Linked DNA regions of Homo sapiens: regions 1 and 2 are each linked to region 3. The links are contacts of gene promoters, found by promoter capture Hi-C in blood cells and fetal thymus (Javierre and others, 2016). All regions are on one chromosome and are shown on one strand. Each heading gives the region's core, a stretch centred on a gene start or on the middle of the fragment in contact. The rest is flanking DNA. Distances are from core to core; before and after follow the strand shown.

What was found. The method cuts DNA at HindIII sites, captures the fragments that hold promoters and counts their contacts. A CHiCAGO score of 5 or more calls a contact.
Region 1: a contact is called between a fragment that was not itself captured here and the fragment with the promoter of DRAXIN in region 3, in 1 of 17 cell types (endothelial precursors). The highest score is 5.7, in endothelial precursors.
Region 2: a fragment that was not itself captured here is called in contact with the fragment with the promoter of DRAXIN in region 3 in 1 of 17 cell types (naive CD8 T cells); the score reaches 5.8 in naive CD8 T cells.

The regions. Positions count from the first base shown.
Region 1 is chr1:11,279,211-11,283,450 of GRCh38, reverse strand. The region is part of intron 1 of UBIAD1 (UbiA prenyltransferase domain containing 1); the gene reads right to left. It also overlaps the pseudogene UBE2V2P3. Among named protein-coding and RNA genes, the nearest start is that of UBIAD1, 8.1 kb to the right of the region's middle. The HindIII fragment of the contact is 1,166 bases long and covers 1,760-2,925 here.
Region 2 is chr1:11,342,108-11,346,394 of GRCh38, reverse strand. No RefSeq gene overlaps it. Among named protein-coding and RNA genes, the nearest start is that of UBIAD1, 71 kb to the right of the region's middle. RefSeq lists an enhancer at 2,290-2,790. The HindIII fragment of the contact is 1,744 bases long and covers 1,697-3,440 here.
Region 3 is chr1:11,689,456-11,693,667 of GRCh38, reverse strand. It overlaps DRAXIN (dorsal inhibitory axon guidance protein), which reads right to left and starts at 1,958. Exons shown (of 7, transcript NM_198545.4): 1 at 1,815-1,958. It also overlaps a transcript of MAD2L2 not described here. RefSeq lists enhancers at 2,643-3,150, 3,151-3,660. The HindIII fragment of the contact is 12,625 bases long and covers 1-2,789 here.

The sequences.
Region 1 (4,240 bases), core at 1,093-3,592, 410 kb after region 3:
GCAGAGCACGAGCTCCAGTTCAGAATTAGTAAATTGACGTCTCTTCCAATATCTCACACATTTAAGGGACTACACCCACGCAAAGATGATGCTGGGCAGGAATACTCCCAGCACAGACCTAGCCAGTTCCTCTACAGCTGCCCACTCTTGCTGTGCTTGTTTTCTCAGCTCCCCAAGTGACGCCACTGGTCTGGCTGTGAAAGAAAATGCAACAGCACTACAGCCTTGACCTTTGGCTGGAGTCTCCAAGAACACCTCCTTAGATCACTCGGCAAAAAGCAATGTAAGCGGCCAGGTATGGTGGCTCACGCCTGTAATCCCAGCACTTTGGGAGGCTGAAGCAGGTGGATCACCTGAGGTCAGGGGTTCGAGACCAGCCTGACCAACATGGAGAAACCCCATCTCCACTAAAAATACAAAAAATTAGCCGGGTGTAGTGGCGCATGTCTGTAATCCCAGCTACTCGGGAGGCTGAGGCAGAAGAACCGCTTGAACCCTGGAGGCAGAGGATGTGGTGAGCCGAGATCGTGCCATTGCACTCCAGCCTGGGCAACAAGAGCAAAACTCCGTCTCAAGAAAAAAAAAGGCCAGGCACAGTGGCTCACGCTGTAATTCCAGCACTTTGGGAGGCCACAGCGGGTGGATCAACTGAGGTCAGGAAGTCAAGACCAGCCTGACCAACACGGAGAAACCCCATCTCTACTAAAAATACAAAAAAAAATTAGCCGGGCATGGTGGTGCACGCCTGTAATCCCAGCTACTCGGGAGGCTGAGGCAGGAGAATCGCTTGAACCAGGAGGCAGAGGTTGCAGTGAGCAGAGGTCGCACCATTGTACTCCAGCCTGGTCAACAAGAGCTAAACTCTGTCTTTTGAAAAAAAAAAAAAAAAAAAGTGATGTAAGCAAGGTTGAGCAGAGATCTCTGTCCCCACCCCAAAACCAAGAGCAACCCACTCTGGGGAGGAAAAAGATCTGGTTATCTGACACAAGAAAACAGTAGAGCCCTTGGGGAGAAAGCTGTTTCCTAGCATTTGATACATGGCCCAAGGCTTCATGTGCTCTACCTGATTCAGAGACGTGGCCCATCTGGGAATTTCCTTTTAGGCATTCCTCCTCTCCCAACCCCATTTTCTGAATGAGCTTACACAGTGAAATACTGGGCCGGTTCTCCACACGGCAGCCAGAATGAATCTGTTAAGACTTAAGTCAAAAAGTTGGCAAGACGCAGAGCAACTGGAACACTTGCTGGGGGGAGTGTAAAGAAGTACAACCACTTCAGAAAACAGTTTGGCAGTTTCTCATAAAATTAAACATCATCTGCCCTGTGACCCAGCAATTCTACTCCTGGGCATTTACCCAAGAAAAATGAAAACAAATATCCACAAAAAGACTTGAACATGAATGTTCAGACGTAATAGCCAAAATATGGAAGCAATCCAAATGTCCCTGAAAAGGAGAATGGATAAAAAGAAGTTGTGGTATGTTACAATGGAATGCTAGTCAGCAAAAAAAGGAACTACTGATACACGCAATAAAACAATGAATCTCAAAAACATCACGCTGAGCAAAAGAAGCCAGACGAGAGCTCAGACTGAAATAAATACACATACATACATACATACATAGTTCATAGTGAAAGGTTCCATTTATATGACAGGCAAAACTAATCTCTGTGAGAGGAATCAGAACAGTGGTTCTTTTCCTGTCTCTGGATGGGGGCAGGGAGTGTGGGATTGACAGGCAAGAAGCACTGGGAAGCTTTTGGGGGTGATGGAAGTGTTCTGGATGATGACGGGGTGTGGGTTATGCAACTGTATACATTTATCAAAATTCATCAAGCTGCAACACTAAAAACCTGTGCATTTCACTGTGTGTCAATTATATGTCAATAAAAGACAATGTTTAAAAAATCTTAAACCAGATTATGTCACTACTCTGCTCAGTATATTTCAATGCCTTCCCATTTGTTCACTGGATATTTACTAAGTAATATTACATGCCAGGCAGTGCTCTGGGTGCTAGGGGTTCAGCTAATACCAGAGACAGAAATCCCTGACTGCAGGGAGGGAGCTCGCAGTCGAAGGGGGAAGATAATTAACCAATTAAGTACTTTATATGGCACATTAGAAGGTAACATGTGCTATGAGGAAAACTAATGCAGAGAAGAGCAGCAGGGGAAGTATCAGGTGGGGGCACGGAGTGGGTGTGTAATTTTAAGCAAGGTAGAAAGCAAGGCCTCACTGAGCAGCTGACATTTGGGCAAATAGGTGAAGGAAGTGAGAAAGTGAACCACATGGTTAGAAGCAGGAAAAGCATTTCAAACAGAGGAAGCTGCATCTACAAAGGACCTGAGGGAGGGGCAGGAGGGGTTGTGCATGCTCCTGGACTAGAAAGGGCAGTGTGGCTGGCCCAGGATGAGCAGGAAGAAAGGAGGAGGGTGGGTCAGAGAACTGGGGGGAGGGCAAAAGGTGGGCAAAGAATGTAGGGCCCTAGGGAGTCACTGTAAAGACCCTGGCCTTTACTCTGAGCAAGATGGGAGCCACTGAAGAGTTCTAAGCAGGACTGACAGGGCTGCCCTATATTTTAACAGAATTACTCTGGTGGCTGAGTGGGAACAGCCTGAATGGGACCAGAACAGAGGTAAAGAGACCAGTTGGGAGCCTGCCGCAAAAATCCAGGGACAGATGATCACAGTGGTGGCTGGACACGGTAAGAAGTGGTCAGATCCTACATGCATTTTGAAAGGAGAGTCAACAGAATTTGCTGATGAACTGGATGTGAGACGTGGGAGTCAAGGACGATGCCCACAGCTTTTGGCCTGAAGAACTAGGATGAAGCTGCCATTGAGCAAAATGGGGAAAAAGCTGTGGGCGAAGCAGGTTTCCTTGGGGAGAAGATCAGAATTTGGTCTCAGACATGTTAAGCTTGAGATGTTTATGAGACAGTTCTAGGAGAAGTTGCTGAGCAAGAAGTTGGATATGAGTCTGGAGTTTAAGAGTCACTAGCTTAACAGATGGCATCTGAAGCCATGAGCTACATCACCAAGGGAGTACATGGAGATAGAGAAAAGAGGCCCAAGGACTGAGCCCTGGAGGTTGGGGAGTAGGACTGGTTAAGATCGCCATGACAGAGACCCTGCCTAACTCACCAACTGTGTCTCATGCCCCCTCTGGCTCACACAGACCTTTCAGTAGATCCTAGCCAATGTCACACTCTCTCTCACCCACCACATTTGCACTTAGTGGTCCTTCAGCCCTGGAGGACTCAGCATCACAATCAGACTCCAATTCCACCCCGTGGCCAGCTCCTTATCCTTCCGTCTTCAAGTCCTAGTTTGAACGTCACTTTCACAAAGACAGCCTCTTCCCTTCACCACCACCTTGTACTTTCTATTACACCACCTCATTGATTTCCTTCACTGAACTTTTTATAATTAGCTGCCAGGCCACCACAGCCTTTTGATTTTCCTCTTACTCCTCTGGATGCTTGCTCACATCCCCTTTACCTGTGCCTTTTCTTCCCCCACCTCTAATGTGGGAGTGTCCCAGGGCTCAGACCAGGACTGACTTTTCTACCAACACTCCCTCCCCCTTGATGACCTCACCCAGTCCTACAACTTTATCTATAGACCAATGACTCCCAGATATGTAATCTCTAGCCCAGGCTTCTCTGAACTTGAACTACCCATTTGACATCTTTGTTAGGAGATTTAATAGACATTAAGATGTCCAAAGTTGGCCAGGCGCAGTGGCTCATGCCTGTAATCCCAGCACTTTGGTAGGCCAAGGTGGGTGGATCACCTGAGGTCAGGAGTTTGAGACCAGTCTGGACAACATGGTGAAACACCGTCTCTGCTAAAAATACAAAATTAGCCAGGCATGGTGGCAGACGCCTGTAATCCCAGCTACTTGGGAGGCTGAGAATCACTTGAACCCGGGAGGCAGAGGCTGCAGTGAGCCGAGATCATGCCACTGCACTCCAGCCTGGGAGACGGAGTGAGACTCTGTCTCAAAACAAACAAAAAACAAAACAAAAAACCACGAAGTCAATTGCTTGCTTTTCCCCCAAAACTTGTTCTATCCCCAGCCTTGCCCTTCTCACATGATGACATCACTCCAGATGGTATCTTCCAGTTCTCAGGTCAAAACCTTTGAGTTATGCTTATGCAGCTATTGATAGGCAATGGTATGATTAACTGGGGCCTTAAAGATGATGAAGATATGACATTTACAAGGTGGACA
Region 2 (4,287 bases), core at 1,319-3,818, 350 kb after region 3:
GCTCGGATGCCAGTTCCCTGCATAGCCCATCCCCTCACCTGGGCCAGGCAGAGGGACGCGGGAGATGCAGCTGGGACACAGGCAGTTCCATTATTTATGAAGCTTTCGTTATTTCACATATAAATAATCGATGGCTGCAAAGTGCGGTAGGCAACACTGTGGAATATTCATGAGCCACGTTTGTGGGAATTTCGGCTGCCGCCTGGGCCCCAGATGTGCACACACTCACACGCCCCCAAATAAAAATCACCATAATAAAGATTTCATCTGTCAGGCAGGGGCTCGTCTCCAGGAGAGAGGCAGCTTGTGCATCCTCGGCACTCAGAGGGTTTGCTCGCCTGGCAGTGGCTGGAGCCAAGCACCCAGCCTGTTAGGGAGGGAGGAGATGGCCCCCCAGGGAGGGAGTCCTGACACTGCAAGGACTGGTCCACTTCTCATCCTCCCACCCCTTCCCCAGCCCCGGTGTTTCATCAAGCACTCCTAGTCAAAGATAAAGAATCCTTCCCGGCCAAGCGCAGTGGCTCACGCCTGTCATCCTAACATTTTGGGAGCCCAAGGTGGGTGGATCACTTGAGGTCAGGAGTTCGAGACCAGACTGACCAACATGGCGAAAGCTTGTCTCCACTAATAGTACAAAAATGAGCCAGTTGTGGGGGTGCATGCTGTAATCCCAGCTACTTGGGAGGATGAGGCATGAGAATCGCTTGAACCCGGGAGGCAGAGGTTGCAAGATCGTGCCCCTGTGCTCCAGCCTGGGTGACAGAGTGAGACTCTGTCTCAAAAAGAAAGAAAAAAAAATACTCCTTCCCTCCCTGTGTGTCTCCGAGTCCCCTGCTCCCCTGCCCACCACCTTTGAAGGGGAGCTCGGCTGGGGTTGTGGACTCAGGATCTCATGCATGGGAAACAGTCCTGTTCCTCAGTCCCTCTTCCTGGACAGAAGGCAGGAAGATCTGACCTCTTCCCATCATGGGATTCCCCGGGGTGGTGTGAGGGGTCAGGGAGTAGATGAGTCAGGAGGACACAGTGTGGCCCCGCAGGTCCTGTGAGGCTGGTCCCAGCTTACCCTCCAAGCCCCCACCTCCTTCCCCGTGGCCTCCCATTCCAGGCTGCACCCCCATTTTGCTCTCTCTCTCCTCTAGGCCTTTGTTCTTGCTGTTTATGCTATTTCCTTCACTTGAAACACTTTTCCCTTCCCCGCTGTTACCTGGCTGGTGCCCTCGGGGTTGGGGAAGCTGCCAGCTCCCCTAGGGCATCTTCCCCAACCGTTAAGCTGAGTTGGGCCCCTGCCTCTGGGCTTCAGGGACCTGGACCCCCCAGTTCTGGCACTTCTTCCACTGCACTGTAACCATCTTTGTGCTAGTGCTCCCTCCACCTCCCCAACCTGCCCACCACACATTGGATTGTAAACTATGTGACCTTGGCAGGCTTTGGCCCCCGAGGGGTTTGAATCCAAGCTCTGCCTCTTACTAGCTGTGTGAACTTCGGTGAATTACTTAACCTCTCTGTGCCTGGATCTCCTCTTCTGTACAGTCAGAATGACAAAAATAGAACGGACCTCATAGGGCTGTTGTGAGCGTTTAATGTATTCAGCCAGTGAAAGTGCTCGGCCCAGTGCTTCTCAGAGCTCGGGAAGTGGTCAGTCCCTCATCCCTCCTCTGCCATTCCAACATCCCCAAAGCTCTGAGACCAAAAAGCTTTTCAAAACTCATTTGGCAGCAAAACCTAAACTGAACTGACCTTAGAGATACTTAACAGTCTGTATCCCACTATTCACATGTATTTCGCTACAGAAATATGAATATGTTGGAGTCGTCTGTAATATAGGGAACATTACATTAATAAAATCTGAAAACAATTTTGAAATCTGAAATGCACGTGGCCCCAACAGCTTCTTTGCGGAACTGTGGCCGACAGCACTCTCATGATTTTCATGAAGGATAGCATGTTAATATCAACTGCCTGAGAGCCAGGACCGTGCGTGTCTTATTCAGCACTGGGCCTGGCACAGAGCAGTTCTCCATAAACTGGGTGACAGTTGGGACAGTGACTGGAGCTAGCCCTGCTTCCCTGACTTTCTAGGAGGCTGTGCCCTGCCACCCATCTCCTCGGAGCCCCAAGCCCAGGCCCAACCTACTCACTTCCCCCAGGTCACCCCTTGCTGTTGGTGGCAGAAGCGGGGTTGAAACCTTCCCCTCACCTGCCTCCCTGAGGACTACCTGGGTTTGCGCAGGGAGGGGATCACTCATTCCAAATCTCAGCTGAGGAGCAGGAAGCTGCCTGGGGAGCTGCCACCACATCCCTGCTTTCCAGGCCCCAGGACAGGCCCACTCTTCCAGGAAGGCATGAGGCTGCTCTCAGACCTTCCCTGCCCTCTCCCCACAATGGCACATTAGGAGGAGGCTGGACGGGAAGGACTCGCCAGCTGAAATTAAACTAAGCACCAATCTGGCCAGGTGCAGTGGCTTACACCTGTAATCCCAGCACTTTGGGAGGCTGAGGCGGGCGGATTGCTTGAGGCCAGGAGTTCGAGACCAACCTGGCAACATGGTGAAGCCCTGTCTCTACTAAAAAAAAAAAAAAAAAAAACAAGCCAGGCCTGGTGTCAGGCACCTGCAATCCCAGCTACTCAGGAAGCTGAGGCATGAGAATTGCTTGAACCTGGGAGGTGGAGGTTGCAGTGAGCCAAGATCATGCCGCTGCACTCCAGCCTGGGCAACAGAGCAAGACACTGTCTCAAAAAGCAAACAAACTAAGCACCGATCTGTGCTGGGCCCCAGTGTGTATTGATAGGTATAGATATGCACAGGTATGGATTAGCTATATATCTAGACATGGAGGATACAAGCAGCTACAAACACCTTCACCTGCTTAATCGTCACATCAAACACGTGGGTGGGTGCCATTAATGTTCAGTGGGTTCTAATGAATAAACCCACCACCTCCTCCACCAAGTTCAGATCCAATCAAGAGAGAGACACTGAAATCCCATGGATAAAGGTCCAAATGGCAGTTTGAACATCTACCAAAAGCTGAATGGCAGAATGTGACAGGGTGGGGAAGTCTGAGAGCATTACGCCCCTGCTCATGGAAACACGAAGCCCATTTTGTAGATGAGGAAACGGAGGCAAGTCAATGAGGAACAGGAATTTGAACCCAGGTTATCCTGTCTCCAGGTATCAATGTAAATCTGTATCTAGCCTACCCCTAGATCATCTACATGCCTCGGGATCTCCAGGATCCAAGGCACAATGATTCTGATAGCAAAAGAAGCCAAGAGGAGTGGAGCCTGCAGCAGAGCCCTGGGGTCTAGGCAAAGGCTGGTCCATGATTTCCCTCCTGGCTCCTCCCCTCCTGCTCCTCTCCCCACCTCCCCTCTTCTCCCCTGTCCTTATCCTTCCCTGTCAGATCACTATCATTCATTTCCCTCTGGTTACCAAGCTTGGCGAGGCAGCTTTCCTGGTTCCATGTCTGATCTGCATGCCTGAGCCAAGAAAAGGACTTGCTTTCAGGAGCCACTTCCTCCTCCAGCTCATTAAACAGCTGGTCCCCTTGTCTGGGTTCAACAGTCAAAAGCCTAATCCATGTCTGGCAGCTGGAACAAATCCTACCAGGGACTCAAACAGCCCCACCTGTGGGGAGAGTAGGAGACCCAGCCGCTCGCTGGAAAGCCAATTTCGAGACAGCGCTCTCTGAGGCTGCACTAATTTTGTCTCATGTTCCAGAGCTGCAGTCACTTTATAAATCCGGCAGAGAATGCTGCCAAGGGTTCAAGAACAGGGTTCCAAGACCCGAGATTAGGCCAATGCTGTTCCCTATCCCCCAGGAAAGGCCCCCCAGGACAGCTTGCCCCTGCAGCAAAAATGGCCAATGCTTCCTTTTATAAATCAACCCCATATGGGCTTTCCAGGATTCTGAGGTTGCATCTGGGCTCAGCACGAAGGAGTCCTGTGATTGATTAGGGATGTCTGCCACAGCTGCGGCCTGGGACCTGGTGTGCAGAGGCCATGTGTTCACTTTTTCAGTACTCATGATTGCTCTGGCAATGGCCCTATGATTGTGTCACTCTGGGACTGGGGTGTGTGTGTGTATGTGTGTGTCATCTTGAAATATATACGTTTACAAAGCTGCTTATAAAGCAGTGGTCAACTACAGCCCTTCCTCCACACCATATGGCCCATACGCCTCCAGCAAGCACAGAACCTCCTGGAGTTTCATTGCAACATTTACAAAATGAAGATGAAGCTGCCAGGTTGGGACAAGTTTGCATGCATGAAACTCCTCTCCACT
Region 3 (4,212 bases), core at 709-3,208:
GGATTTCGAGCAGGAGCCTGGATGGGGGATGTCGTGGGGATATCCAGCCGTTCTTGCCTCTAAAGAGAAAGGTTCCAGTTGCCAGCCCTGGCTGTGGCTGAAATAAGAACTCAGCCAGGGGAGCCTGGAACCTGCCAGCTGGGAGGTTTCCCTCTTCTGAAGTTGCCCTCATTAAGACACTCAGGCCACGTCACTGCCAGACTCCTGGAGTGGTGTGTCACATGTTATGACCACCTAGACAGTGGTCAGGGGGCTTGGGCAAGCACACAGCAGGTCCAGGAGCCAGCAAGACAATCCCCTCAGAGGAAAGGAAGTGGCCTGTGAGCTGGTGCCGCTATTAAAGGCATCAAGCCAAGACTGAGGTTCAGAATTGGGGGTGAGTCACCGGACGCCTTCTGATGGGTGATCAGTTGTTGGCAACACCAGCTCAGCCACACTGATCTCATTTTGAAAAAAAGTGACCCATTGGCCCTGATTGTTTTAGCTGATTTTAGGACAAGCAAAGAGGAGGAGAGAGAGAAAGAGAAGAGTGCTTGCAAGGGTGTGGACGCCTGTATGGGCACGAGGAGGTGAAGGTGACAGGAAGTGTGATGGGGGAAGAGGCTGTGGTGGTGGGGTTACTCTGAAGTGTCTCTAAGCCTTGACTTTGAGATCCATTTCTGTGGAGCCCCCTGTCCCCACCCCATCCCAGGTCTGTAGACTCCCCTCCCCTCCCCTCCCTTCCTCCACAGGGTGTGTGAACCAGCACCAAGCGGCACCCCACAATTTCCACACACATCCCTATAGGTAGGGACTAGCACCATCCCTGTTTTGTGACAGGAACACTGAGGCTCAGAGAGGTGCATTCCTTTGTCCGAGATCACTCCCAGAGCCCCAGTGTACCCGACTCCAGATGCATAGTACTGAACCGGTTCCAGACACCAGTGTGTCACTGGGCTGGGAGGTGGGCAGCGTGGAGGGAGCATATAGGGCAGGGGAGACCACCGGGCGGAGAGGATGGCCCAGGGAGCACCCAGCTGAGGAAAGCAAGAAAGACTTGGCGGGAAACCCCAGCCCTCTCTCATCTCATACCCCGGCCCCGAAGGCGGCTGAGACCCTTGACGAGCGGACGGAGAAAAGCCAAAAGCCGGCGGTGGGGAGCAGGAGGGACAGAGCGGGAGACCACAGGCGAAAGACCAGCGCCGTCGGGGGAGCCAGGCTGAGTACCTTCCTGGGCACAGATGGGACGGCGCGGGGCCACCGGCGGTGCTGGTTCCGGGCGCACTCAGCGACCCCGGCCACACACCCCAGCCTCCTGGGCGGCCTCGAAAGGGGCTGGAGGGCACGCCCGCCAGCTCTGCCCGGGGCTCAGGGAGTCTTCGAAGACTTCTTCCAACGGTGGCGGACTGGGGCCCCCTGCCTGAGAGACCACCCGGAGACTCAGAGACAGAGAGACAAAGGGAGACTGGGTCAGGGAGAGAGAAGGCTAGTGCCGAGGAGAGTAGGTGCGAGCCGGGACCCCAGAGGGCGGCGAGGGCGCGCGCGAGGCCGAGTGTCAGAGCGTGGAAAAGTGGGCGTCCAGCGGTAGGTGGACGGATGGGGAGCCCGGGAGCAGAGCCAGGGTCCGTGGGCAGACGCGGCGAGGAGAGGAGGCGGCGGAAGGACTGGCGGATAGACGGGTCCGAGGGCTGGGAAGGAGGCAGCATCCTCACTTCCAGCCTCGGGACCCCGCGCACCCCGCCCCTGGGCGCGCCAGGTAGCCCACCTTTGTCCGGGCTCGCAGCCAGGTGGGGCGGGAGGGGCGGAGCCAGGGGCGGGCCGAGGCCGTGCCTTACCTGTCCGGCCGGCGGGTAGGGGGAGGAGGGGCTCGGGGCCGAGCGCCCGCGGGAGCCGAGCGCAGCCGAGGGCGAGCCGCGGAACGGGGCCGGCGTGGAGAGGTGCGCGGGCAGCCGGAGGATGTGCCCGGGCTGAGCGGGACTGGAAGGAAGGGGGAGTGGGCGGGCAGGAGGGAAGGGGGCGGGAGCGCGGGGAGGGGACAGAGGAGGGGCGGCGGGTGGCGGGCTCGACTGCCCCCAGCCGAGGGGCAGCCCCGGGGCCGGGCCCGGCGCGCACCCGGCCAGCGCGCCCTCGCCAGCTGCGCTCTGAGTTCTGGGCCAGCTCCCCAGAGGCCTAGGCGCCGCCGCCGCGAGGGCGCGGGGCAGACAAAGGAGGCAGACAAAGGCGGGCGCAGCCCAGCAGCCGTGCGGGCACCGGGCGAGGCAGGCCCACTCCTCCCGGTGCGTAAGAGCCGCCTCGGCGCGGCCCAGGGCGCGTGGGACGGGAGGGGCTCCGGCAGTTGTGGCGCCTCTGGAGCGGCCCCGCGCAGGGCGGGCGACAAAGGGCCGCGGCGGGCGGTCCTCGGTGGACCCCAACAATGGAGCGAGGCTGCGCGCTCAGCTGCGGCCGCGTCTGTCAGGGCAGGGGCCCGGGGCCACAAAAGGATTATTCCGCCTAGACTGTCAAAAGGGACGGAAGAAATGCCCAGGGCGGGGGAGGCGGGACGGGGAACGGCGGGGCCTTTGTAGCCGCAGAAAGTGCGCAGAGTGGGCAGGCGGGGTTCTCCGAGAGGTCGCTCCTGGATGTAGGGGTACAAAGGGTCTTCAAAGTGCTACCAGCTCACCTGGGGCGCTGACGGCGCACCTGTGCCCTCTTTCCCGGTAGGGAAGGGAGAAAGACAACCGCCCCAATACACACACACACAAACACACACACACACACACTCACACGCGGCGCGGCTCTCGCCACGCCCCGTCCAAAGCCGGCCTGAAGCTTCTCAGACCGGCCCAACCCGGACAAAGCCAGCGCTGGGGCCGGCTCATCCATCACCGCGCGGGGCGCCGTGTCCTGACGACCCTGGGAGTCTGAGAATGCTGGGTTATGGGTCCCGTGCCTCCCATAACTCACGACGGGGTCGGTGGGGCCACGGACGCTGCAAAGATCAAAGAGCGATGGGGCCGGACTCCCATATGTGGGAAGCAGCGCTCCCACCTGGCGCCCTGAGCTCGCCAGGTGGCTTCCATTTCGACTGTTTTCTTTCTCCAGCGTGTGGCAAATTATGACTTTGAGGTTTTAGAACACAGTTCTGCCGTCAGGCTAAATGTCTGTGTTCCTCTTCTGATGCCGTCCCCTATGACCTCGAGCAAGTCGCCTGACCTCTGAGCTCATGATTATACCTAAATTTCAGTGTTCTAGGCGTGAATGCAGTGCCCTGTGTAAGGAGATAACGTTTCTAAGGTCTGGCCCATAGGAAATGCTCCTGTAAAATTAGCTGCCATTGTTACCGTGATATTATTAGCTTGGTGGGCACCAGGATGGATTGATGAGAACACTGAACTGTTTATTCACTGAAAGGTTTGAGTCATCCATCCCATAAATACCTATTGAACACCTACTATGTGCCGGCACCGGAGGTACAGTAGTAAACAACATGGACAAGAATCCCTGCCCCCATGGAGCTCAGATTCTAGTGAAGGAGACAGAAGATAAGTGAACAAATAAATATAAATGATGTCAGGTGGTGATTAGTGCTATGAAGAAAAGTAAAGCACATTACAGACAAAGCATGAAGGGACGAGGTGTTGTTTTACATAAAGTTATTAGGAAAGGCCTCTTTGCTGGGGCAGTTCTTTTGGCAAAGAAAAGGAGGTAATGAGCCACGTGGTTGTGGGGAGAAGACTTGCAAGCAGAAGAGCCACTGCAAAGGTCCTGGAGCGGGAGTGTGCTTGGTGTGTTTGGTGGAGAAGAGTCAGTCTGGAACAGAGTGAGGTGACATCAGACAGGGAGCTGGGATAGGACCATGTTGTTACAGGAAAGGGGTCCTGACCCAGACCTCAGGAGAGGGTTCTTGGATCTCGCACAAGAAATAATTCAGGGCGAGTCCATAGAGTAAAAAGTTTATTAAGACAGTAGAGGAATAAAAAGAATGACTACTCCATAGACAGCACAGCACCAAGGGTTGCTGGTTGCCCATTTTTATGGTTATTTCCTGATGATGTGCTAAACAAAGGGTGGATTATTCATGCTTCTCCCCTCCCCCCGCCTTTTGTTTTTCTTTTTGAGAGGGAGTCTTGCTCTCACCCAGGCTGGAGTGCAGTGGCACAATCTCAGCTCACTGCAACCTCCACCTCCCGGGTTCAAGCAATTCTCCTGCCTCAGCCTCCCGAGTAGCTGGGATTACAGGTGCACACCACCATG